Linked DNA regions of Homo sapiens: all the other regions are linked to region 1. Evidence: promoter capture Hi-C in 16 types of primary human blood cells and fetal thymus (Javierre and others, 2016). All regions are on one chromosome and are shown on one strand. The core of a region is centred on a gene start or on the middle of the fragment in contact, and the rest is flanking DNA. Distances in the headings are between cores, read along the strand shown.

Region 1 (4,367 bases), core at 913-3,412:
ATGGATCAAAAAATTATTGTAAGATCCCATAAGGATAGAAATGCACCCTCCTTTAAAATTTCTGATGCTGAAAAATTTTAAAGGTAAATTAGAAGATGTTTCTTTGAAAATATTTCTTTCTTTGTGCGTGTGTGTGTTCATAAGGCTTTATCAGAGTGCTTCTGTTTAGTTAAGTGTCTTAGTCAGTTTGAGCTGCTATAACAGAATGCCATAGGCTAGGGGGCTTAAACAACAATTATTTCACAGTTCTGGAGGCTGGGGAGTCCAAGATTAAGATCCTGGCAGATTTCATGCTTGGTGAGGGCCCTCTTCTCAGTTTGCAGATGGTGGCCTTCTTGCTGTGTCCTCACAATGCAGAAAGGGAGAGAGAGCCAGAGATCGAAAGCTCACTGATCTCTTGCTGTAATGGCACTTATCCCATCATGGGGGCCATACCTTCATAACCTCACCTAAACCTAATTACTTCCCATGGTCCTGTCTTCTAATATTAGCACATAAGGGAGTCAGGGCTTCATCATCTGAATTTGAAAGAGACACAAACATCCAGCCTATATCAGTAAGGTTGTGAAACACCACTTCTATTTTGTTATTTAACAAATATTTACATAACACTTTACATGCACTGATGGTTTACACATATTAACAATCAATACTTCTAACAACCCCGTGAGGCAGGCACTATTATAAGCTCTTCTACAGGGGAGAAACATGAGCAAATAAAGCATAAATTACCAAGGGTCATGAAGCAAGTTAGTGGTATGGCTGAAACTTCAGCCCTGACATCCTTATCAAGTGATCTCTACAGCTGCAGCATCCAGGGAACACTCTATTCCTAAGGTAGTCCCACTTCTTCATCCTCGTGCCACTCCCAGCCCTTCTCATAGCAGTGGCAGAATATCTCCATATCCCTGAAGTCTGCATCCACCAGGAAGAATTAAGACAGAGTATTGTAGGCCTACAGCTTAATTTTTAAAGAGAGGGGGTCATTGAAATTGATGATGAAAAGTCAGTAATCCAGTGAGAAGGCATCAGCTAAACAGGCTTGGAAATGCTTTATTGACATTCCTCTAGAACTAAAATTTCCTCGATAGCTGTTTCTCTAGAGGGAACCAATCCCAGGATGCTGGTAAATACATATGGCATGGAAATGCAATTATGTTAGCAATCTAGTATGTATATATCAGACATGTCTGCTTGTGCTTAGAGTAGTAAACAAGCGGAGTCTCATTCCCTGCTCCTTTTCTGGTGGTGTCTATGGCCTTTTCTGCCCAGGGACAGCACTAGAAAAGGCAGACCTCCTGAGCCCAACAGGCCCCTCGCAGCTCCCAGTGACTTCCATGGATCAAAACACAGACTTCCATACAACAAAAAATTGATGCTACTGGAATTACTAGAGTTCGAGATGTTCCAAGATTTCAAAGAGAGAAAGGATGGGGGATTGCAACACTGTTAACTAAAATAAACACTGAATTGACCCTTGGCAATGGTCTGTTCCCGCACCCAACACCTGGCTCCACTACGTTGAAACACACACACACACACACACACACACACACACACACACACACACACGTGATATTTGCTTTTAAGATCATAAAACACCAGGAAGGAGACAAAAGCTCTTATGCGTCATCTGAGATGACACATGTACTGTTAAAGCGTGCGTTTATTTCAAACATTAATGAAATTTGCAGAACCCAAACTAAAGAGAGAGGATAGATAAGACATGCTGCAGTTCTTGCCCTAACTTTCAATCCCAACAACTGAAATGTCTTCCAGAGAAGTAACTCCCCCCGGTAAGGATGTAGCGCGGTCCCTACGTGGGTCTAAGGGATCTGACCCACGACGCACTGCACTGGGTTCACGAAGCGCCTCCTCGCAGGCGGTTATCTCGGTATCTCTGAGAGCGGCGGGCTCTCGCTCCCGCTCCAGGGATTCGGGGCAGAAAGAGAACATCCCACAGTTGGCGGGAGTTACGCAAGACAGTCAGACCCGGACGTCACTCGTGAGTGCCCCGACCCCCCTCCACCCCAGAGGCGGGGCCATCGCCTTCCTTCCGAACTCGGGATCGATCTGGAGCTCCGGGAATTTCCCTGGCCCGGGACTCCGGGCTTTCCAGCCCCAACCATGCATAAAAGGGGTTCGCCGTTCTCGGAGAGCCACAGAGCCCGGGCCACAGGCAGCTCCTTGCCAGCTCTCCTCCTCGCACAGCCGCTCGAACCGCCTGCTGAGCCCCATGGCCCGCGCCACGCTCTCCGCCGCCCCCAGCAATCCCCGGCTCCTGCGGGTGGCGCTGCTGCTCCTGCTCCTGGTGGCCGCCAGCCGGCGCGCAGCAGGTGGGTCCCGGCGCCCTGGGGTCCCCGGGCCGGACGCGGCTGGGGTGGGCGCCCCGCGCCGACAGCCCCGCTCAATCAGCGAGTCTCTTCTTCCCTAGGAGCGCCCCTGGCCACTGAACTGCGCTGCCAGTGCTTGCAGACCCTGCAGGGAATTCACCTCAAGAACATCCAAAGTGTGAAGGTGAAGTCCCCCGGACCCCACTGCGCCCAAACCGAAGTCATGTAAGTCTCGCCCATCGCTGCCGCTGCCACTGCTGGGGTCCCCGACTCTCCCGCTGCCCCAAACCCTGTCCTCAGCCCGACCTCCTGTCTCACGAGATTCCCTTCTCTCTGCAGAGCCACACTCAAGAATGGGCAGAAAGCTTGTCTCAACCCCGCATCGCCCATGGTTAAGAAAATCATCGAAAAGATGCTGAAAAAGTAAGTTATAATTTCCATGTACACAGGCGACTGGAGCTGTTGGTCAGAAATACTGGCGTCTGCCCCCTAAAAAGTAAATCAGGAAAACCCAGGGTTAGCTGCAGGACTGAAAAAATTATTATTTTCACAAAGTTGCCATTAAGGTTATTAATCTGTTCTGGTGCCAGAGGATATTCCCAGTGCCCAGGGTCACCACCCAGGTTCTTCCCTCCTGCCAGTGAATGTAGGTAAAACTGCTTTCATGTAAGGTCTCATTGGAGTTTGCCAGTTGTGCTGAAGTGTTTTCCACCTGTTAAAAAACACAAGCTTCATTTCCCCTAGTTCCTACTGACTTTCAGACCTGAAAAGCAGACCCCCTGGTTTTTTGTAAAAGTTTAGGGTTGAAGTGCAGAGATTTCACAATAATATTGCACTGGGTATATAACTGGTTGCCACCACCTATTAGCCATGTCACTCAGAGACAATATTATTTAGTTTATCTGAGACTCAGCAAAACAGGGAAAATAATGGTAGCTACATCATGAGGTTGCTTTGAGGCTCAAGTGAGGCCCAGTATGACAAAGAGCAATAGGCTCTGGCTGTTTTAGCCAGTAAAACAGTGTAGACTGCCACTCCTCCACCCCACGTCACCCCCATTCCTAAAAGAGCATCCCAAGCCTAGAGGTCCTTGCCACACAGCACAGCTGTCACAGGCAGTACCCACTTGGGTGCCAGGCTGGGGAAACTGCATTCAGAAAACTCTAGAGCCTGGGGAAACAGGACAGGAGAAGACTGTTGTGCAGTCAGCTTTCCTGAGCACCTACTCAGGGCACCCATTTTCTCATTACAGTGGCAAATCCAACTGACCAGAAGGAAGGAGGAAGCTTATTGGTGGCTGTTCCTGAAGGAGGCCCTGCCCTTACAGGAACAGAAGAGGAAAGAGAGACACAGCTGCAGAGGCCACCTGGATTGCGCCTAATGTGTTTGAGCATCACTTAGGAGAAGTCTTCTATTTATTTATTTATTTATTTATTTGTTTGTTTTAGAAGATTCTATGTTAATATTTTATGTGTAAAATAAGGTTATGATTGAATCTACTTGCACACTCTCCCATTATATTTATTGTTTATTTTAGGTCAAACCCAAGTTAGTTCAATCCTGATTCATATTTAATTTGAAGATAGAAGGTTTGCAGATATTCTCTAGTCATTTGTTAATATTTCTTCGTGATGACATATCACATGTCAGCCACTGTGATAGAGGCTGAGGAATCCAAGAAAATGGCCAGTGAGATCAATGTGACGGCAGGGAAATGTATGTGTGTCTATTTTGTAACTGTAAAGATGAATGTCAGTTGTTATTTATTGAAATGATTTCACAGTGTGTGGTCAACATTTCTCATGTTGAAGCTTTAAGAACTAAAATGTTCTAAATATCCCTTGGACATTTTATGTCTTTCTTGTAAGGCATACTGCCTTGTTTAATGTTAATTATGCAGTGTTTCCCTCTGTGTTAGAGCAGAGAGGTTTCGATATTTATTGATGTTTTCACAAAGAACAGGAAAATAAAATATTTAAAAATATAAAATGTTTGTTTTATTTTGGGGGAAACAAGGACTATATTTGCTGAAAA
Region 2 (4,367 bases), core at 922-3,421, 240 kb after region 1:
TGTCTCTTGCCAGTGAAATAGTCTTGCCTAATACCACCCATCTTCCACACTTCTGCTACAGACAACTTTCCTACATAGTTGCTCTAGTTACTTTATTGTTAATGCATCTGTCCATTCATCCATTCAAAATTTATCTACCACTCATAATCCAGGAACTAAATTTGGCTCTAAATCGGATTACAAAGAGGGAAAAGAAGACTTTGCTTCAACTGAACTCACATCTACAGAGTGGCACAGAAAGATATGGCATTGTGTGGAGGTCCAAGACACTCAGCTGTGTGCAGAGTTTTGTGGGCACTCACAGGAGGTGAACACCTGACCCTTTTTCTTGGGAGGGTGGGAGCTTCCAGAGAAAACTTTCTGGTAGAGGGTGCTACCTAAGGTGAGTTGGGAAGGGACCCACTTCAGAAGAGGCAGACCAAACAAGCAAAGGAATGGAAACTGGCAACAGTGTAGTGTGACCTGAAAACAAAAATCAGCCGTTTATTTTTTTAACACAGAATTTAACATTTAGATTGATCCAGCAGAAGGATAGGCAGGGCCCAGTCACTGAAGGCTCCTATTTATCAATCAAGGACCATTTCAAATGTCACTTCCATTAAAATCCCATCTTTCCTTCCAAAGGGTTATCTTGGCCTTTGGATACAAATCACATTGTGGGGAGCATTGATTTACATACTCCCATACTGGATTGTGTATTCTGTAAGGAAAGCCATCATATATCTCATTCCTGTTTGCATCCACCAGACTCTAAAATTCTCTCACACCAGTGGTTTTCCTAGGGACCCATCAAAAACTATGAATATCTGGTCCTGAAAGTTCACGGGAAGCTTTGTGCCAGGACTCTGGAAAAAGAAGATGTAAACATGAAGATAAGTTTTCAAACAGGGAGTTAGAAGGAGCTAGAAGAAAAAGTCTCTAAAATGAGTCTGGTTCATGCTAAGCACTCAACAAATGTTTGCTGACATAATGCATGAGTCAATGGTTTCAGGTCACTGTTTTAAAACTAAAATATCCTTAAGTCAGGATATGTGGAAGCTTCCCTTGATGGAGTGTGGAATTTCCTTAGTTTCTTTTGCCTATTTTGACTTTTCAGGACCAGAATAAAAGATGCCAGTGGACATTTAATGAAACCAGATATGACAGTTGGGTCAGAGCCACAGTTTGAATTCTATAGTAAGAGCTAGAAAAGGGGATCCCCTACCTGGGAAAGCCAGAGTAATGAGTCTGAACCAAAGTCCTTAGAAAGCTCTGATGCCCAGGTCTGCCAATACATTTAAAGAGACAGATGGGACCTGCATCCAAAGCCAGAGGGCTTGAGCTCTCCCAGGTGTGGAACAGAAGGGGAACAATGTTAGGAATAAGGCCAGGGAGGTCCTTGTCACAGATGGAGCTGGAATATCTGTGTTTGGTTTATAGGTCATTTGCCTTAGGGCTGATAGAACAATCCAGGTCATTACAGGTTCATGATCTAGGCAGTAAGTGAGTAGATAATAGCTATTCTTCCCACACATTTTAAAATTCATCTGCGTGTAAAAGGCACAGTGATAAGTTTAGTAGAAGAGGAAAAGTTGGATAAAATATGAATTCTAATGTAAAATTCTTTGTTTAGCCTGACTACTTTCTCTTGCAATGCTATATTATTTGTTTTTCTGTTCCTGGCATGATAATCTGATGTTATGATTAGTCTACAGATACTTAAAATCATTCAGGTAACACTGAGAATCATTTGATATATTAGCTTTGCCAGATTTTTTTTTGGAGGGGTGGTTATTGTTTTTATATTTTTTTTTTTTTTTTTTTTTTTGTTTGTTTGTTTGTTTGTTTTGAGACAGAGTTTCACTCTTGTTGCCCAGGCTGGAATGCAATGGCATGATCTCGGCTACTGCAACCTCCGCCTCCCAGGTTCAAGTGATTCTCCTACCTCAGCCTCCCGAGTAGCTAGGATTACAGGCATGTACCACCACACATGGCTAATTTTTTTATATTTTTAGGAGAGACGGGATTTCTCCATAGTGGTCAGGCTGTTCTCGAACTCCCAACCTCAGGTGATCCGCCCGCCGCAGCCTCCCAAAGTTCTGGGATTATAGGCGTGAGCCACCATGCCCGGCTGGTTATTGTTTTTTAAAAAGGTTTTTATAAATCTTTTTGCATCTCTGTTTTCTTTAAGATTGTTTTCTGACCTATCTGGAAGTGGTATTCACCAAGTAATGACATCATGAGCATATATTTAAAAAAAAAAAAAAAGAATTACAGGATTGCAAAGGATAAGGAAATGAAAAGTTTCTCTTGGAAATAATTATGCAAGAAATTTGTTTTGGAGAAGAAAACGTTATTATGACTTTGTCATTCCGAAAACAAAATTTAGGAAATTGAAGGATGAACATATAAACCACAAATGAAAATAGCATACATAGCATAAAAACGCAGATTTCAGCAAAGAAAAGTTTGAATCATCATGAGAACTTATGTTAACATCTTGTCCATAGTATTTTCCAACATTCATTATCCTTCAATTTTTTGGTAAGAAATATTTGTGTTTTCCTTTTTACCTTCTTGATCAGTCCATTTACTTAGGTAATCTTTGAAACAGATTTTCCTGAACAATACTGATTTCAAAGAGGTTGCTCTACTGGTGTGTGACTGAGCTAGTTCCTTGATTGACATTTCTAGTTAATTAAGTAAGTAGTTAATTAAGGACACTAAAGAAATACAAGATCTAATTAGATATGGTGGGTATTATAGTGAAAGAGGAGGAACAAGGGCTTGGTTGTGTGTAATTTACCATCTGTATGTTGTACATTGAAGCAAACATCTATAATAAAATAATGTTTAATATGTCTATATCATAGCATCTGTGTATGATGAGAGCACGTGAATAGACAGACGAGGGGAACTCTTAACAGAGTCCCTAATAGTTACGAATGCGACTCTAATTAAAACATCAAACAAATCACTGATGAGGCAGATAGTATGGGTGTGTTATAATGTCTATGAATAACTTGATGAGATCAGTGAGCCTAACAAGATCGAGAGCTGGGAAAACGGTGTCTTTCTTTAATTTTCAACTAACTTTCTGTTGGCTGAGTAGCTTATCCTTAGCACCCAACTGCACCATTACTTCACAGCACTAACTGCAGATTTATTCTTCTCCAAGTAGTTAATATTTGACACACATTTACTTAACACCTACTCTATCAGGCATTTTTCTGAAATCCAGAATGAAGAGATGGAATAGGCTTAATCCTTATTCTCTGATTTAAAGTAGGAAAATAGATAAAGGAATAATTACAGTGAAGCTTAATAGTTATTCTGATGGAGGCGTGTGTAAATTGCTTTATTGCTTATTTCCTAACATTCCCTATAGCTATCCCTAGAATTACTGAGAAAAGAAAACTGATTCTCCAACACAGCTGATAAGTAAGAGCTGGCTGTTCCAACTCTGTTTTGACTGCTCTGTTTCAAGTTGGATTGCCTCTCACCACAAATGCTGAATAGTGACATAATCCTCATGTTGTGCCTGCTTCAGTGAAGAAGTAAATACTTGGCAAATTTAAGTCTAAAGTTTATTTTTTCTTGTTTTCTTTCCTGGAAAAATAGCTAAGCCAGCCTCCTGTATAAATATACAGTTCACTAGATGTCCTGTATATTTTATAATCTTACAGATATGCTGGCTGACAAACATTGTGGTTTTGTTATTTAATTTTCTTTTAGTTGTTATCAGGAAAATACTACTTGTGTCTGTCATGCTAAATTTTTTCTTAACTAGCTGTCTGCACCCAAGCTTTGGGTTGTGGTTCTGAGCAAGGGAAGTACTGGCTTATTGGCTGTATTCTTAAAGAGTTGGTTGCTAGCTCAGGGATTGTGGCTTCTGCTGGAAATGTTATGTTCCCTGAGAGTAGAACTCCAAGAAGAGGAAAGGAAACATTTATTTACTAGGTTTCAATTCTGAGTAAGAACCCATACTGGATCCTATTGTAAGTGTGATTTAATCCTTTTCAGTACCCTGTGTGGTGGGCTTTATTGTCCTTGTTTTGGAATAAGGGAACTGAGGAGACCCAGGGTCACACAGAGTCAAAGCTGAGATACAACCCAAACTGTCTTTCTCAAAAGCCCACTGGGCTAATGCCAGCATCTACAGGAATAATAAGGAAAAAACCCATATGGGAAGAATTTTATATAACAGCTAGTTAAGTCCACTGAGTGTGAATATGCTGCTTTTATTTGAGCCCTCCTAGAAATCGATGTGTTTTCTGTTCTTAACCCAATTTACATTTGGGACCAAGCTAGGCAGTACACGGCTGAAGCAGATGGTCAGGAAATATAAATGGTAGCCCAAGCTGAAAAGGACCTAGAGTCTCAACAAT
Region 3 (4,367 bases), core at 1,401-3,900, 200 kb after region 1:
TTGAGGCCAAGGCTGCAGTGAGCTGTGATTGTGTCACTGCACTTATAGCCAGGGTGACAGAGCCAGACCCTGTCTCAAAGAAAAAAAATAAAATAAAGAATTCTTCCTATAAACTTTGTGTTCACCATGGTGTCAGCATATTACAAAGGACCTCTTAAAAGGTCATTGTGCAGTACAAAAAATAAGTTTCCAAAATATTGGTAAGTCCTGGATCTGACTTAAACACAATCAAAATTATTTCAGAATGTTGGGTTTTAGACTAAGTAGAACAAATTCTTCCAATTCACTCTGAAAATATGAACTATTCCACAATGTTAAACCACATGTAGGACGCTCAGAGCAAATACTTTTGCTCTATTCCTAAAAAATAGCAATAATTAAATAAAATTGAGTTACTGAGAAAGCACATTACAATAGTTTAACCGTAATAGACTTTGCTAAGATATGTTCAGTAAAAATGGCTTTTTTTCCTGAGAATTTTACAATGTCCGTTATGGTAATGATCTGGATTTGGATGAATTTAATGATAACTAAAGGAAGATTCCACAGATTTTATTAATGTCCGTGATTCGTATTACCTTTTTCTACAGTGCTTTTTTAGGTAAGCGCATGCTGTTTGAGATACATAAGTGAACGAGTTAAGAAAGGCAGCATTTCTGCTGCAGTGGTAAAGGTAGACCTCATTTGGTAAAACACATAACCAAGGGAAGTTGTTGCCTCTTTTTTGAAGTTTCTCTGCTAGTCATTGGCAAGAGAAGTCACTCTCGAATAATCTCTTCACATTGTATGTGACCAAGCCCTGTTTTCTTCTCTTCTTTCTGGATGATATCGGTTCACCCTTCAAACCTTTCAAATATTTTTTTCCTAGGTGTGTCAAGGTGTATCATGAAAAAAAAGTGACCTTTGAGGCCACCAAACAAGTTTCCTGAGTGAGGCTGTTTGCCTGGTTGGGGGACTGATCTGGATCCATTTTCAACTCTATCTCCTCTCAGTGTTTGAGCCTGGGCAATGACTTAAGGCAGTGGTCTTCCTCACTTGTGACCTTAGGAGAAATAAGTCACCTCTGGAGGTTCATAACAGCCTGACTTCTTTTTAATTGTCCAGCCTCAGAAAGAACAAGCAATGGTCACAATTATTCTATTATTGATCTATATCTATGTGGTTCCTTCTCCAGCTTTGCTCTGGAAATGTGTCACTCATAAAACCTCATAAATGTGTAATCTGTTATTGCGCTGGGAACACACTGTGCTTGACATTGTCTGGTAGTTTTGCTCCGGCAGCAAATCCTTACCTGTATGATTCTGCAGCCATCTCAATTCTTGCCTCCTCAGAAGAAATAATTTGACGGAGGGGCATAAGGCAGAAGGAGAGACTGAGGCAAGTATTTGAGCAGGGGTGAAAGCTTATTTGAAAGCTTTAGGACAAGAGTGAAAGAAAGTAAAGTACACTTGGAAGAGGGCCAAGTGGGTGACTTGAGAGATTCAGTGTGAGGTTTGACCTTCTGACTAGCGGTTTTATACATTGGCGTACTTCCAGGGTCTTGCCTTACTTCTCCCGATTCTTCCCTTGGGATGGGCTGTCTGCATGCACAGTGGCCTGCTAGCACTTGGGAGTTGAGCATGTACAGTGTGTTTACTGGAGTTGCACACATGCTCACTTGAGGCGTTCTTCTTTTACCAGTCAAATGTTCCTGGAAGGTCATTTGCTGATTAAATTCTGCCATTTTAATGTGCATGCTTGAGCCCGCTCACCCAACTTCTGAGATCTTATTGGGAAGCTGCTGATCACTAGTTTCAGGTGTTTTCTATCTATGGGGAGACTGCCCTCCCCTGGTACTGGCTGTGACCAATTATTGTTTTAGAGACTCAGTTAACAACTGCCTGACCATCATCTGCTGGTCGCCTGGTGTTCCCGCTGTGTATGTGTGAGGGGAGCCTTCTCTTGCCCTGTTCATGTCTGACTAGCTACCTACTATAACAGTTTAACCATCTTGATTTGAAAAAAAGAAGAAAAGCTTGGTAAAATAAGTTACCTGTATTGAACAATTGTATCACTACAAATTATCATGTCTGTCTAGCACATTGTAATGGAATAAATGCCAAAAGCACTGTTAAGTCTTCTGAAGAACTCTAAAATAATATTTTTTAAGTCATTGCACATAGAGTCAGCCTTAGACTAACATTAGCCTGCTATAATATAGATTCAGTGAGCACTGAGCATTGCTCTGATTCTCATCTGCATTCTCTCTTTCTAATTGGTGATTATGACATCTCTTTATGTTAGTTACATAAACATCCTTCCATTAGGGCCAGTGATTTTTCTCTTGAAAAGATGTTGGAACAAGGTGTAGAACAAACTAGTTTGACCATCTCCTTCTGCCTTGTTCTAAATTCAACAGCTCTAAATGTGATTTCTTCTTCTTGAGGAAGTCCATGCTTTATCATGCTGTTTCTGGTCTTCTGAGATGGAACCTCTACAACTTCTTCCAGGTGAAGAGAATGATAATGCTTATCGTAGTTGTGCCTCAGAATAATGTGTCCTAGGGGTAGAAGTGGGGAGAATTTAACTGACAGCTCCCATCCCATAATATCCATCAGTGGCACAAAGGAGGTCAACTGCCTGTCACTCCTGGGTGCTCCCATGTTAGAAAAGCTCCAGGACATGAAACGAGGGCATGGAATGTAGCTAACACCACATGCTGTTTGGTTAAACTCACACAGAGCAGTTTGTTTGCTGCAGGAATTGCTGAGTAGCAGGAGGACTGAGAGGATGTGAGGCAAGCTGCAAAAAAAAAATAAAATAAAATAATTACAAGTTATATTACATAATCTAAAAGTCAGTGCAGTGTATGGGAATGATTTTCCTAGGTGAAGAAAATAAAAATAAGCATCCCAGCAGAATTTTTATGAAGAAAATGTACCGTATTTTTTTCAATATAAAATGCATACAAAGAAATAGGATAAACGTGGAGCTGGGCCGAAGTCGTTCTATCTTCAAACTTCACTTCTGGAAGTCATAGCTGCTTTTGGTCTCAGTTTGTTGGTCTTTGAGAATGTGGACAAGCAAAGTAGATTGTGGTTGCATTGGTATAATTATTTATTCTAATGTGATGGCTTTCAGGGAGTCAACACATGGTCCTTATGAGATCTTTACACCATGCCACATCCGCTCCAATAGAATATGGCTGCCTGCTCTTTGGTTTGAATTAGTGCCTGGGTTGCTTCTCTGACGGTTGATGGCAGAACAAAGGCAGCCAAACCTATCACAGGTTATAAATAAAGCTTTGCACTGCATTTTTGTTGGGAGGAGGCTAAGAGAAGCCAAAGGAGAATGAGAAGAAAGAATAGGTCCCCCTGGGCAGATAAGAAATAACACACTCAACACACTCAGAAGCAGACTGGGGTTGTGATTATGACTGTGTCAGGCAGGATGAGAAAGGGATGATTACATGATGGATTGAACTTCACAATGCCACCTTTAATGGACCATCTTATTGTAGTTTTTCCGTTCTAGTATAGAGGGCTTCCTGCTCATCAGAGCCAAGGGCGTGCATGTATGCTAGTTGTTTTTCTAGGAAGCCTACAGGTAGCATCGTTTATCCCTTCTTGAGTTATGACTTTTGATTCAATTGAGATGAAAAAGAAAGTAACTTAGATAAGATATAAAAATATCCTGCTTACTAATAATGAAGCTGGTACTAGAGCCAGTGGTTTGTTTCTGTGGACAGGTGTACTTCCTAACACTGACCCCCAGAATTAGGCAGACCTATCTATGTAGTCACAAGCTGGGTTGGAAAATCTTAGGTATGCCCTATGCGATAAGCTACTTTTATTCTTGGCAGAGAGCAGAACAGATCATTTACTTTACAGGAGGGTGAGTGGTTCTGTGAAAAAGGTAAGCAGGAGATGTTATGCAAAGTTGATTGTTTCAAACTCACCCATCTAAATAAGTCAATGTTTCCCTCAGAAGCAGAGAGACTAGATGAGTCAACTTTACAATACACCTCTTTTTCTCTGTAGGTAGATATATCATGGGTGATAGATGCAAGATTACAGGTAAAAGACTTGCTTTTCCTCAGCAGTACAATCTACAACTCAATGCACAACTGCCTGAAAATAGAGTGTTGAAGATGATAAGACACATGCTGTATTTCAGTGAGTCTAAAAGGCACATTTTATCACATTTTAAAATCTCTATAATTGTGGCATGGCTTATCACTGATGGAGAACACAGATTACTTGGGCTGATTTTTCCCTTTCTGAATGGTATGTAAGGTAATGATTTGTATTATGATCCATAGTATCTTAGGCTAGATAAGTAGCAAATGATGAAATTAGCGTTTGTTACCTGGGTTATGACAACTTCTA

What was found. Contacts are between HindIII fragments. The CHiCAGO score rates a contact against its expected background, and 5 or more counts as called.
Region 2: a fragment that was not itself captured here is called in contact with the fragment with the promoter of CXCL2 in region 1 in 2 of 17 cell types (M1 macrophages and megakaryocytes); the score reaches 6.9 in M1 macrophages.
Region 3: a fragment that was not itself captured here is called in contact with the fragment with the promoter of CXCL2 in region 1 in 1 of 17 cell types (monocytes); the score reaches 5.0 in monocytes.

Annotation. Positions count from the first base shown.
Region 1 is chr4:74,096,990-74,101,356 of GRCh38, reverse strand. It overlaps CXCL2 (C-X-C motif chemokine ligand 2), which reads left to right and starts at 2,162. Exons shown (of 4, transcript NM_002089.4): 1 at 2,162-2,336; 2 at 2,435-2,558; 3 at 2,673-2,756; 4 at 3,586-4,317. The coding sequence starts at 2,237. The coding sequence ends at 3,601. The HindIII fragment of the contact is 3,135 bases long and covers 1-2,700 here.
Region 2 is chr4:73,859,128-73,863,494 of GRCh38, reverse strand. No RefSeq gene overlaps it. Among named protein-coding and RNA genes, the nearest start is that of PF4V1, 8.0 kb to the right of the region's middle. The HindIII fragment of the contact is 2,261 bases long and covers 1,041-3,301 here.
Region 3 is chr4:73,892,526-73,896,892 of GRCh38, reverse strand. No RefSeq gene overlaps it. Among named protein-coding and RNA genes, the nearest start is that of CXCL1, 25 kb to the right of the region's middle. The HindIII fragment of the contact is 1,267 bases long and covers 2,017-3,283 here.